2 separate regions of the Homo sapiens genome follow, and region 1 is linked to region 2. The links are contacts of gene promoters, found by promoter capture Hi-C in human tissues and cell types (Jung and others, 2019). All regions are on one chromosome and are shown on one strand. Each heading gives the region's core, a stretch centred on a gene start or on the middle of the fragment in contact. The rest is flanking DNA. Distances are from core to core; before and after follow the strand shown.

The links. The method cuts DNA at HindIII sites, captures the fragments that hold promoters and counts their contacts. A contact is called where the count stands out against the background at its distance.
Region 1: a fragment that was not itself captured here is called in contact with the fragment with the promoter of SLC15A2 in region 2 in 2 of the 25 tissues and cell types used here (H1 embryonic stem cells and hippocampus).

The regions. Positions count from the first base shown.
Region 1 is chr3:121,821,878-121,827,861 of GRCh38, forward strand. IQCB1 (IQ motif containing B1) reads right to left here. Exons shown (of 15, transcript NM_001023570.4): 5 at 4,174-4,303. Among named protein-coding and RNA genes, the nearest start is that of IQCB1, 10 kb to the right of the region's middle. The HindIII fragment of the contact is 3,467 bases long and covers 1,907-5,373 here.
Region 2 is chr3:121,890,404-121,896,731 of GRCh38, forward strand. It overlaps SLC15A2 (solute carrier family 15 member 2), which reads left to right and starts at 3,998. Exons shown (of 22, transcript NM_021082.4): 1 at 3,998-4,178; 2 at 6,003-6,090. The coding sequence starts at 4,074. RefSeq lists enhancers at 2,424-2,957, 2,958-3,490. The HindIII fragment of the contact is 16,247 bases long and covers 1-6,199 here.

The DNA.
Region 1 (5,984 bases), core at 2,390-4,889, 69 kb before region 2:
TAGATGAGTTTAACATTTAAATTTTTAGTCTGAGTAAAGCAGATTGCTTTCCTTAATGTGGGTGGGCCTCATACAATCAGTTGAGGGCTTGAGTAGAACAAAAGATTGACCCTCTCCCACATAAAGGGAAATTCCTCTTGCCTGACTGCCTTTGAGTTGGGACATCAGTATTTCCTGACTTCAGACTCAAACTGAAACACTGCTTCTTCATGGATCTCGAGTCTGCTGGCATTTGGACTAGCACTATGCTATCAGTTCTCCTGATTCTAAGGCCTTTAAACTCAGACTATACCATCAGCTCTCCTGGGTCTCTAGCTTACCAACTGCAAATCTCAGGACTTGTTAGCTTCCATAATTGCCAATTCCTTATAATCAAGCACTTTCTCTTTCTTTCTCTCTCTCCATATATCTTCTATTGGTTCTGTTTTTCTGGAGAGACCTGACTAATATGCCTGGCTTTTCCCAGTGTGTGTTTATCAACATAGGGAAAGAGTTCAAATAAGAAGTTGCAGTATAACTTGGCTGAGGAGTCAGAATTTGGAGCTTGGGGCTGCCAGAACAGTTAAAGAAGTGATCCACAAAGTACAGAGCTTCAAAATCTATATACAAACTTCCATTGAATTCTTGACTCTTAAACTGTACATATGAGAGAAAAGGCTCCACGGAGCCCAGAAGAATCTACAGCTGAAAGGCTGAAAGAAATTACCAGCAATTTCATCTTTTGCCTAGTGCTGGGTATACAGAGTTTGGAGTTTAGGTTCTTCCAAGTCAGATGGTCTGGGTTAACATGGTGGGCTTTCCATTTAAACCACAGAAGGATCTCACCTTAGGTATAAGGACTGTGAACCAGGACTAAGGGCAATACTCTAATGGCAAAACTGAAGTAAACCTCTCCAAAGAAAGGCTAAAACCAAGCCTCCACAGGAACAATTGATCTGCCAGAATTTAACTGCTCTCAAGTCTTCAGAGGAAGATACGAATTTCTACAATGTGTCATTCACAGTTACCATTATAAAACAAAAAATTAACAGAGATGTGAAGAAGCAGAAAAATTTGACCCAGATAATTTGACCCAGAGAAAAAACAGATAATAAAAAGACTCTCAAATGATCCAGGTATTGGATTTATAAACAACAACTTAAAAATAACTATAATAAATATGGTAAACAATCAATAAGAGAAGCAAATAAAAATCATAGAACAATACAATATATGAAATGAAAAATTCACTAGGTAGGATTATTAGCACATTAGACACTGTAGAAGATAGGGTCAGTGTACTTGAAGACAGAACAATAGAAATTATCGAAACTGAAGTAAACAACAACAAGAAAAGGATGAAGGCAGCCTCAACAACCAGAAGTCCCAGAGTGAAGGTAGAGAGAATAGGGCAAACAAAAGTATTTGAAAAAATATTAGCTGAAAATTTTCTTAATATGAATACATTAACTCAGACACATGAAACTCAGGACCTCCAAGCAAGATAGACATCAGGAAATCTACAACAAGGTTCATCAAAGTAAAATTGCTGAAAATAAAACAAAATAAACCAAACAAAGAGAACATCTTAAAAAAGCCAAAGATAAAAAGGTGCAATATGTATAGGAGAATGACAAGAAGAATGAAGGCTGAATTTACATCAGAAACAAAAGATGCCAGAAGACAATGGAAAAAAATCTTTAAAGTGCAAAAAGAGGAAAAAAAATTGATGAAGTAGAATTATACACATGCAACAGAAATATTCCTCAAAAGTGAAGGCATCATGAAGACATTTTCAGATAACCAAAAAGCTGAGAGAATTCATTACCAGCAGAATTGCACTGTAAGATATGCTAAAGGAGGTTGTCAGGCTTAAAGGAAATGATACCAAATGAAAATTCAGATCTGTTTGAAGGAATAAAGACAACCAGACATAGTAGATATAAAAAAATCATTTTTCTTTCATTTCTTTAAATTATTGAAAAGTCAATACACTATTTAAAGTAAAAATAACACATGGTAGATTTCATAATATATGTAAAAGTAAAATACATGACAAAATAGCACAAAAGATAGAAACTGGGAACAAATTTCTTAAAAATAGCAAAATGGTAGAATTAAACCTAACCATAGCACAAATTAGATTAAATGCAAGTAAATGATACCCTTTAAAACAACAGCTTGTCAGACTAGATGAAAAAGCAAGACCTGACAATACGCTATTTAAAACAGACTCATTTTAAGTATAAGACAGAGGTTAAAAAGTAAAGGTTGAGAAATGATGTACAATAGTCTCCCCCTTATCCATGGAAGACATATTCCAAGACCCCCAGTGGATGCCTGAAGGTGTGGATAGTACTGAACCCTATATATACTTTTTTTTTTAATCTGAAAACTGAGACCAGCTACTAAGTGACCAACTGGCAGGCAGCCTGTACAGTGCTGATATGCTGGTCAAGGGGTGCTTCACATCCTGGGAAGGACACTATGAGACTTCATCATGCTATGAGAACAGCATGCCGTTTAAAATTTAATTGTTTATTTCTGGAATTCTCCATTTAATATTTTTGAACCACTATTGGCCATGGGTAACTGAAACCATGAAAGGTGAAACTGCAGAAAGTGTATCATGTAAACACTAATCATAAGAAAACTGGAGTGGCAATATTCGTAATAGTAAACAAAGTAGACTTCAAGATAAGGTCTATTATCAGAGATAAATATCATTTCATGTGACCTGAGTCCATGAGTAAGGTTGAAAAAAAAAAAAAAGACCAGTTCATAATGATAATAGCTTTCATTCATCCAGAAGATATAATATTCCTAAATGTGTATGTATCTAATCACAGAGCTTTGTAATACATGAAGCAAAAACATATAGAACTAAAGACAGAATTAGACAAATCCGCAACCATAGTTGGAAATTTTAATACCCTTGCTCACTAAAAAGTAGAACTGTAGACAAGAAAAAAAAAAGAGAATTTAGAAGACTTCAACAACTCTACTAACCAAATTGACCTAATTAACACTTATAGAACATTACATACAACTGCAGAGTTCACATTTGGGTATACAAGTAGTCCTAGCTTTTGCATGGCACCATATTAAATAAAACCTGTGCATATCAAAACCTTTGCATGGTTCTGACATGCACGAGTTTCAGTTAAGATGGAACTGTGCAAAACAAAGGTTTCTTTTTCTTTTCTTTTTTTTTTTTTTTTCAGATGGAGTTTTGCTCTTGTTGCCCAGGCTGGAGAGCAATGGCACTATCTTGGCTCACTGCAACCTCTGCCTCCTGGGTTCAAGTGATCCTCCTGCCTCAGCCTCCCAAGTAGCTGGGATTATAGGCATGTGCCACCATGCCCGGCTAATTTTGCATTTTTAGTAGAGACAGGGTTTCTCCATGTTGGTCAGGCTGGTCTCAAACTCCCAACCTCAGGTGATCCGCCCGCCTCGGCCTCCCAAACTGCTGGGATTACAGGTGTGAGCCACTGCGCCCAGCCCACAAAAGTTTCTTTTAATGAACATTCACAAAGATAAAACATATGCGGAGGGCCATAAAACAAGTCTGAAAAAATTCCAAAGGATTGAAATGATATAGAGAATGTTATCTGACCAAAACATAATTAAATTAGAAATTGATAACAATAAAGTATCTAGTAGATCTTCAAATATTTGGAAATTAAGCAACACACTTCTAAATCCCTGGGTCAAAAAAAGAGCACATGTATAGCATCTAGCATAATGCAACCAAGAAATACTTGAAAAGACCCCTATGTTTGGGTTGAATATTTTGACTGGAGAAGATATGAGAGATCAAATAGGAAGTTCACCTTTATTCTTCACTACTGGAGCTACTTAGAAAAGCCCTAGCCCTAGAGAACATACTTTCCTCTACTGTTAATTTAAGTAAAAAGTATGTTTAGAAAGATGTTATGGAAATAATTGTCTATGGGTGCTGCCCAACAAGTAAAGTAGCAAGGCAGATCCTTCAAAAAATCAAATGGCAAGCTTCAGTCAGCATTAAAAATTTTTCAAACATAGAGATGATTTTTGGAAGGTTGTAACTTTGAAAATGTTTAAATTCACTACTTTAATTGTACTTTCAGCCAAATATTGCACATTTAAAAAATAACAGAACAGCTTCTTAAGAATTAAACTGATTTAGCTACAAAAGACTAAATAAACACATACCTTAGCTGCATTGATAAAACATGTTTGTAATTGTCTCCCCAAAACTAGAAAATTTTCTGCAGCTGATGGAAGTAATTCATTGTAAAATTCCTCTGCATCTTCTCCTGGCTCCAAGCCCACACAGCAATGGCTGAAATAAGAGCACAAGTTCGTGTTAATTAGAAGTTTATGTTGAATGCTCAAGCTTCTAGAGACACTGTGCCTTATTGAGAATTTTTAGTATGCTTCTTTTGTTACCAAGACAATAAAGAATTTTTGTTGAAAAATTAGTCTAACAACTTTCTAGAAAAGTAAACAGTGGTATGGACCATGCTTGTACTTAGGTCTGGGATTTATGTATCCTAAAAACCTACATATCAGCTCATTCAGCAAATAAAAGACACTTGGCTCACAATAAAGAGAAGCTAAGTTTTCAGTGAATTGGCTATAATCATTCTCAAAGCTATAGGATACCTTGAGAGTTTAATTTATGAAAAGCATTTGTGTTAACTAATACATTTTAGACACCTAATAGCTGAAAAATGCCCAAGTAGGATTTGTTTGCAAGGGATACATAAGGAAACCAAACACTAATTTCATACCAATTTTACCTTCCAATAGATCTACTTTTTGCAAAATACTCATTTGCATATTCCTTATATCAGAAGGACAAACGGCAAAACCTAACTCTAGTAGGAACACTTTACAATATACATTAGAGGAGAGAAAGTCACTTAGAGAAAAAGGTCCTCTTAAAATTGTACATAAAAGTCATTTCCTGTACATAAGTCAGAAGTCCCAATAATAAAAGGTTTTTCTGTAAACTAACATTCAAAAGAGCCTCAAACCCAAGAATGGTCTCTATGTGTGTACTCTAATGAACAAAAACTGCTGTTTGAGTCTTTTCAACAAAATGTATGGACACTAATAAGCAATAACAACTATGTATTGAGCATGTTAAAAATCTAAGTAATCAATGGCAGACTGGATAAAGAAAATGGTATATTTCTTTGGGGTGGTACATATACACCATGGAATACTATGCAGCCATAAAAAAGAACAAGATCATGTCCTTTGCAGCAACATGGATGGAGCTGAAGGCCATTAACCTAAGTGAACTAACACAAGAACAGAAAGCCAAACACTGCATATTCTCACTTATAAGTGAGAACAAACATTGAGTATGCAATTTACCTATAAAACAAACCTCCACATGTACCCCTGAACCTAAAATAAAAGTTAAAAAAAAACCTAAGTGGATAATATTTACATGTATCACTTTTTGTTGTTGTTGTTGTTTATTTGCACCTGGGTTCCTAAAGTTAATGGGCTAATGCTCACATGTATCAGCTTTTCTTTTCTCTTTGGTTCCTAAAGTTAATTACTTAAGAGTATCTTTTTTGATTGAGAAGATTAACAAATGAAATTATGTTTATTTGTGCATTCAGAAACATGGGAATTTCTTAAGTCTTGAATTCCACCCGAGAGCCTGGCTTAATCAATATCATCATAAACTAGCATATCGAATCAAAACAAAAACATAAGGCTTTATTTACTTAAGAAAATCAATCTTGAAAATTAAAGTATGAAAAAGAATATCACATATATTTTTCAACTGTTCTTTGTAACTGTGTGCTTTAAATTTGGCCTTTACCAAGTAACACAGTAGGATTAAGCAGCTTAGAAATCTAGCATCCAAGACAAACCCTTTCAGTGGGAATAGCTTATTAAATTCAAATGGCTTATTTAGGAAAAACAAAAAAAGAAGGCTAGGATCCAGTTAGTAAATACACACTTTCACTTATTAATCAGGAAGTAGCTTAGGCACTAAG
Region 2 (6,328 bases), core at 2,748-5,247:
GAGGTGGGCTGATCACGAGGTCAGGAGTTTGAGACCAGCCTGACCAACATGGTGAAATCCCGTCTCTACTAAAAATACAAAAATTAGCCAGGCGTGGTGGCGCGTGCCTGTAATCCCAGCTACTCAGGAGGCTGAGGCAGGAGAATAGCTTGAACCCGGGAGGCGGAGGTTGCAGTGAGATCATGCCACTGCATTCCAGCCTGGGCGACAGAGCAGAGACTCCGTCTCAAAAAAAAAAAGAAAGAAAAAAAAGAAATGCTGACTTACTCCACAATCATAAAGATGTTCTCTTATGTTTTCCTCTAAAGACATTTTTTTTTACTTTAACATTTAGATAGGCAATCTATATAGAAATTATTTTTGTGTATGTTGTAAAATAAGGGTCAAAATAATTTAGGGGGTATGGATATTCAAATGGTGTTTATTTATTGAAATCAACATCATTTCCTTCACTGTATTACAGCATCATCTTTGTTATATACATTATGTGTGTGAATCACTTTCTGAACGCTGTGTTGTTTCATTGGTTGCCCTATGTTATCTGTGTCAATTCCACTCTGATATAATAACTATCTTTAAAATAGGTCTTAGATTGGGTAATACAATCCTCCACCATTATTCTTTAAGATTGACTTTGCTATCCTTGGCTCTTTGCACTTCCAAGTTGACTTTAAAAAGTCATCTTGTCATTTTCTATACTCACAAAACCTGCTGGGATTTTGTTTTAGAACTGTAGAATGTTTTGAGAAATGTTGACATCTTTACAATATGAGCCTTCCAATTCATAAGCATGGTATGTTTCCATTTATTTAGATCTTCTTCAATTTCTTTCAGTAAAATTTTATAGTTTTTAATATTGAGGTCTAGAAGATCTTTTGTTAGATTTATTCCTAAATCTATTTATATAAATAAATATATAAATGTATTCCTTAGATTTCCCTTTTCTATTTCTTTGTGACTGATGTTTGATACAATTTATTTTTGTGTATTTTAATTTAGAGAACTTGTTAAATATATGTTCCCTTTTAATTTCATATTTTCCTCTTCTCTCTGACTATATTAGATTCTATTAACTTAGAGCAGCAGTCTACTTTTGTGTATATATAACTAAAACTTTATCATATGTCATAATAAATGTTTTCTGATGTTGTAATCACTAAGGACACAAATATTCTTTACTCATCACTGATACTTAGATTCTTTCACTTTTATTGTTTGTCTCAGAATAGTTGGTGCTCATTTCTGTCTGGGAGGTGCTTTCTTTTTATCTCTTCTCTTTCTCCTTCTATCTGATGTTAGCAAAATAATAGGATTTAAGAGCCATCTTAATATTATATAAATGGCTCAAGACTATGCCTTGGGAGCCTAGGGTTCCAGTCCTTGCTTTGTCCCTTCTGAGTTCCTCTGAAATAGAATAGGAGAGAATTTATGACCAGTGTTTCCCAAATTCCTAGCGTAAGAATTGCTAGAGGTGCTCGTTGAAAACAAAGATTCTTAGATCCCTACCGAGATCTACTGAATTGGAATTTCCAAAGGAAAATGATTCTTATCCTCAGGGAAGTTTCACTCACATAGGACAAGATTAAGATTCCTTCCATCTCTGATATTATTCGATTCTGTGAATACTATCATTATACTGCCATAATCAAAAGAAGAATTTTGTCTAAACAAAGGAGTGTCAGAAAACCACTGCCAATACTCCAAAGTTTAGTATTTGGGATACCTATGAGCACAAATAAATTGGTACATTGCATACAGGTGCTATTCCATCTACTCTGCCAGATCAAGGAAAGCCACAACATAAGTGGATCTTCAAGGCATCTGTGCCTCTGCTAGTTAACTTGACTAGTAACTTCTGACCATTTATTTTCCAGCCAAAGTCATTAACCAAACCAATTCAGAAATGGCAGTGCTTCCTGAAAGAATAACTATACCTTAATTATTAATGCCACAGTCAGAAATGAAGCTGGACTCTTCTTTGGGTAAAGGTTGGTGGGAGACAGTAGAAATGAGGGGTGTAATAGAAGCTGAGAAGATATGGTCAAAGTCTGAGTTAAAGTTTAGAGAGGAAAAGACAGTTTATCCTGGCCCTATTTGTCAATAAATTATTTGAATAGTTAAAGTAAAAATTTTGTGAGGGATAGAGTTATAGGTTTTCTCTCTTGTATTTTCAAATAAAATAATTCATTCTGATGTTGCCTGACCTTGTTGATTTAGTCTTCATTTTTCTTATTTCTTTTATAGCTCTCTAGCCTTTCTTTTCCCTTTTCTTTTGACAAACAACTAGAGGGGCACCATGCTCTTTTCTTATCCTTTTACTTCTTTGGCTTGACAAAAATAACACAGCATAAAATGCACCTAGCATTATGATGTTTGTTCTTGTTCCTCTTCTGATAAGGACTAAATGTATAATTAAGGAAAATGGTGTTCACAACAGTACCTAGAAAGTAACTGGTTCACAATTTTTGCTCAAATTAAATTTTATTTATTAAATGAAAGAATAGATTAATCTTGAAGTGAGAAAATGAAAATATAAGGAGTGACTTTAGCAAAGAAGAACAATGGTTCCCAAATGTATATCACCAATCCTTTTCTCTCATTTTCTTTAGCCCCACCTCTTTAATTGCTTATAGGCTATTTCTAGCTGAACTTTTATGATGTTGAAAACAAAAGTCTCCTTCCTTCCTTCCTTTCTTTTCTTTTCTTTCTTTCCTTTCTTTCCCTTCTTTTCTTTCTTTCTTTCCTTTCTTTCCCTTCTTTTCTTTCTTTCTTTCAAGTCTTGCTCCGTCGCCCAGGCTGGAGTGCAGTGGTGGGGTCTCGGCTCACTGCAACCTCTGCCTCTTGGGTTCAAACGATTCTCCTGCCTCAGCCTCCTGAGTAGCTGGGACTACAGGCGCGTGCCACCACACCCAGCTAATTTTTGTATTTTTAGTAGAGATGGGGTTTCACTATGTTGGCCAGGCTAATCTTGAACTCCTGAGCTGTGATCAGCCCACCTCGGCCTCCCAAAGTGTTGGGATTACAGGCGTAAGCCTCTGCACCCAGCCAAAACTCACCATCTTTCTTATCTTCCAAACTCAGTTTTATGATGACTTTCCTTCTCCAATGCATTTTAATCCTCTGCATTCCTACATTCCATTTATGTAACCTCCATACCTGAATAATGACTGACACTAACTCCACTTTTCCCAGCTGTCATGGCATAGTGAAAATTCCAGATCTGCCACTTAGTGGACAGGTACTTTGAACAAATTTCTTAACCTCTGGGAACATTACTTTCTATAAAATGGGGATAGTAATATGAATTAGAATAAATATATATGTTATAGATATACAACATAGATGTAATTCATATATATTAACCTTTCAATAGTAGATGTTCAATAAATTACAGCTATTGTTACCCTGAAATCAGTTTTTCTTTTTTTTTTTTTTTGGAAATGGAGTTTCGCTCTTGTTGCCCAGGCTGGAGTGCAATGGTGCAATCTCAGCTCACCGCAACCTCCGCCTCCCAGGTTCAAGTGATTCTTCTGCCTTAGCCTCCTGAGTAGCTGGGATTATAGGCGCCCGCCACCACACCCAGCTAATTTTTTTTTTGTATTTTTAGTAGAGACGGGGTTTCACCATGTGGGCCAGGCTGCTGACCTAAAACGATCCGCCTGCCTGGGCCTTCCAAAGTGCTAGGATTATATGCGTGAACCACCGCGCCTGACCATGGAATCAGTTTTTCAATCTGTGCTCGAGGTGTTGTGTTCTTAACTATCTTCTACTCCTTTGCAAAGATAATCTTTCTTAAACATAGACTTTCTAATCAGTTCTCTAGCATTGTTTCATTCTGTCTTTGGCATGTTTTCACTTTGCTGTGCTGTACTTTTACACATTCTTTTTAACTATAGCTTCCTGCTTTGCTCTGGATCAGGAAGCTATTGAAGCTGACACCCACAGAGTTAAACTGAGTTGCTGAAGCCACCAGCTCCCCCTCCCAGTCCTTCTTTTCAGAGTAGGCTGGCAGCTGTCCTAACTGCCTACTAAAGCCAAATGCTTGAGGAGAGAGAGAGAGTAAGGAGCCAGCCATGAATCCTTTCCAGAAAAATGAGTCCAAGGAAACTCTTTTTTCACCTGTCTCCATTGAAGAGGTACCACCTCGACCACCTAGCCCTCCAAAGAAGCCATCTCCGGTGAGTCCTTAGATTCAATCCTGCCTCTGAGAGGAATGGCCTCCCTCTTTTGGCTCTCTTCCTTGGGCTCTGGAGCTTCCAGCTGAGCTGTATTAGGGTATTAAAATGCTTCTCTCTTGGATTTAGAATTCACCTGAAACCAAATCTAAACAGAAGCTTCCTTTACATAAGAAGACAAAGCAGCAGGAAGAGGTAGTCAAAGTTCTTCAGTTGGGATCCAGGGACTTGCTGAATTTCATTGCATATTCTGTTTCCCTGGGGGAAAAAAGCAATTCGAATGTCCAGGGAAACTTGGCAAGCATTCTTGTCTGAAGAACTGTGTGTGATTGTTCTTTCTTTACCAATATAAAAACTCTGCCCTTAGTTCTCCCTGTGTGCAGAGTCTTCTGCTGAACACCAATGGAAGTTTCAGAATAGATCCAATTTCTGTTACTATGTGTTCCCAGTTTACTGTGGGAGATAGGACAGAGAAACAGAGAATAGTAATGTTTTGCATTTATATACTCGCTAAAGCACTTCTAAACTCATCATCTCAGTCAATTCTTACACTAAAATTCTGTAAGTGGGGAGGATATAGTAATGATAGCCAAAATTTACTGAGTTCTTACAGTGGGCCAAAAGGTGATGTTATTCTCATTTCTTTGGAATAACAGAACAGAGGTTTTGAGACAGGTGTAGTGACAATGCCAGTATCAGTATGTTAACACAGCCAGTGGCAGTGTTGCCTAACTAGCTAACAGTGTGTCGGCTAAACTCCAGATTGCATAATTCTCAAGCTGTGAGCTGCAAAGGTAAGAAGCCCAGTTCATTGTATGTTTCAAACAAGCTATTATAAAACATTAAAATATATTAATATTTAGGAGGATCATTTATATATATCCCTAGGGTTAAAAGAATAATACATTACTTTATTATTTTGCCTATTTTTTTAGTTAATGATATCTCTTCTGGTCCCAAAGAATTTAGGGCTACTTGCAAAGATGTATATACTTCTCATGAAATGAGGCAATATAAATCTTACAAGATTTGACTGTACTGAGGACAGATACCTCTATGTCTCTTCTCATGTTAGTTGGTCTATTGTAATAGATAGGGAATTAAAATAAAACATAACATTCCTTATATTCTGACTGATATATTACATGAAAAGCATAATTCTTTTAATGTCCAGTAGGATTATCATGAAAATGTTATAGAATCTCTTTAGTAGGAAGAGTAGACATTTAATTTTACAGGATTTAAGAACTCTGCCTAAAGTCAAGGTGATCAATTAGCTTACCCTTAGGAATCTCTGTCCTCCATGTTGGGCTCTGTGCCTGACTCCAGCAGCCTCTGAAGTAGAAGCTATCATATTGCCAGGATTCCTCCCAGCATGGCAAACAGAACAGCTGGGGACAAGAGTCCCCATAGTGGGGCTAAGCAGAGACTGACATCTGAATCTCACTGCTTGGATATCAGGTATTCCATAGGCTACCTCTTTATTCTGTTCCTAGGAAGTAAATATCACCATTCTTCTGCCCCAGAGCCCTAGGCTTTTCATTTAGTAGTTGTGGGAAGATGAGCAGGTCCAAGGAATATTTGAGCAAGTCCATGTAAAATAAATAAGAAACAAAATAATATTCAGAGTAGCTTCTATTATTTCTAAATCAGTAATATAAGCACTTTTAGTGTTACCTAATAGGTGTGTCATGAAGAGTAGAGACCATTGCTCCATTACCTACCAAGATGATTTGAAATAAATGAATTTTTCAGTTTTGAAGAAATCTAATTGTTGAAACAGGGAAAAACAGCTCATGCTTGAATCATTGCCTTCTTGTTGAATAGACAATCTGTGGCTCCAACTATCCACTGAGCATTGCCTTCATTGTGGTGAATGAATTCTGCGAGCGCTTTTCCTATTATGGAATGAAAGGTAATTTTGTGTCCAAGAGTCCTACCTACTCTCCTCCACCCACCCTCACCCCATGTTTGTGACAGCCTGGTCTCTTTATATGCACTTATTTCCCGAGTCCACTCTTTCTGCCTTGGTCCAAATTGGTCCTTTACTTTGGCCAAGACTTCCAATAAATCTCTCATAGGATTTCACCTAATATGTAGGCCAAGATCAGAAAGGCCTGAGACAAACCAGAACATAGACTTTGAGAATGGGT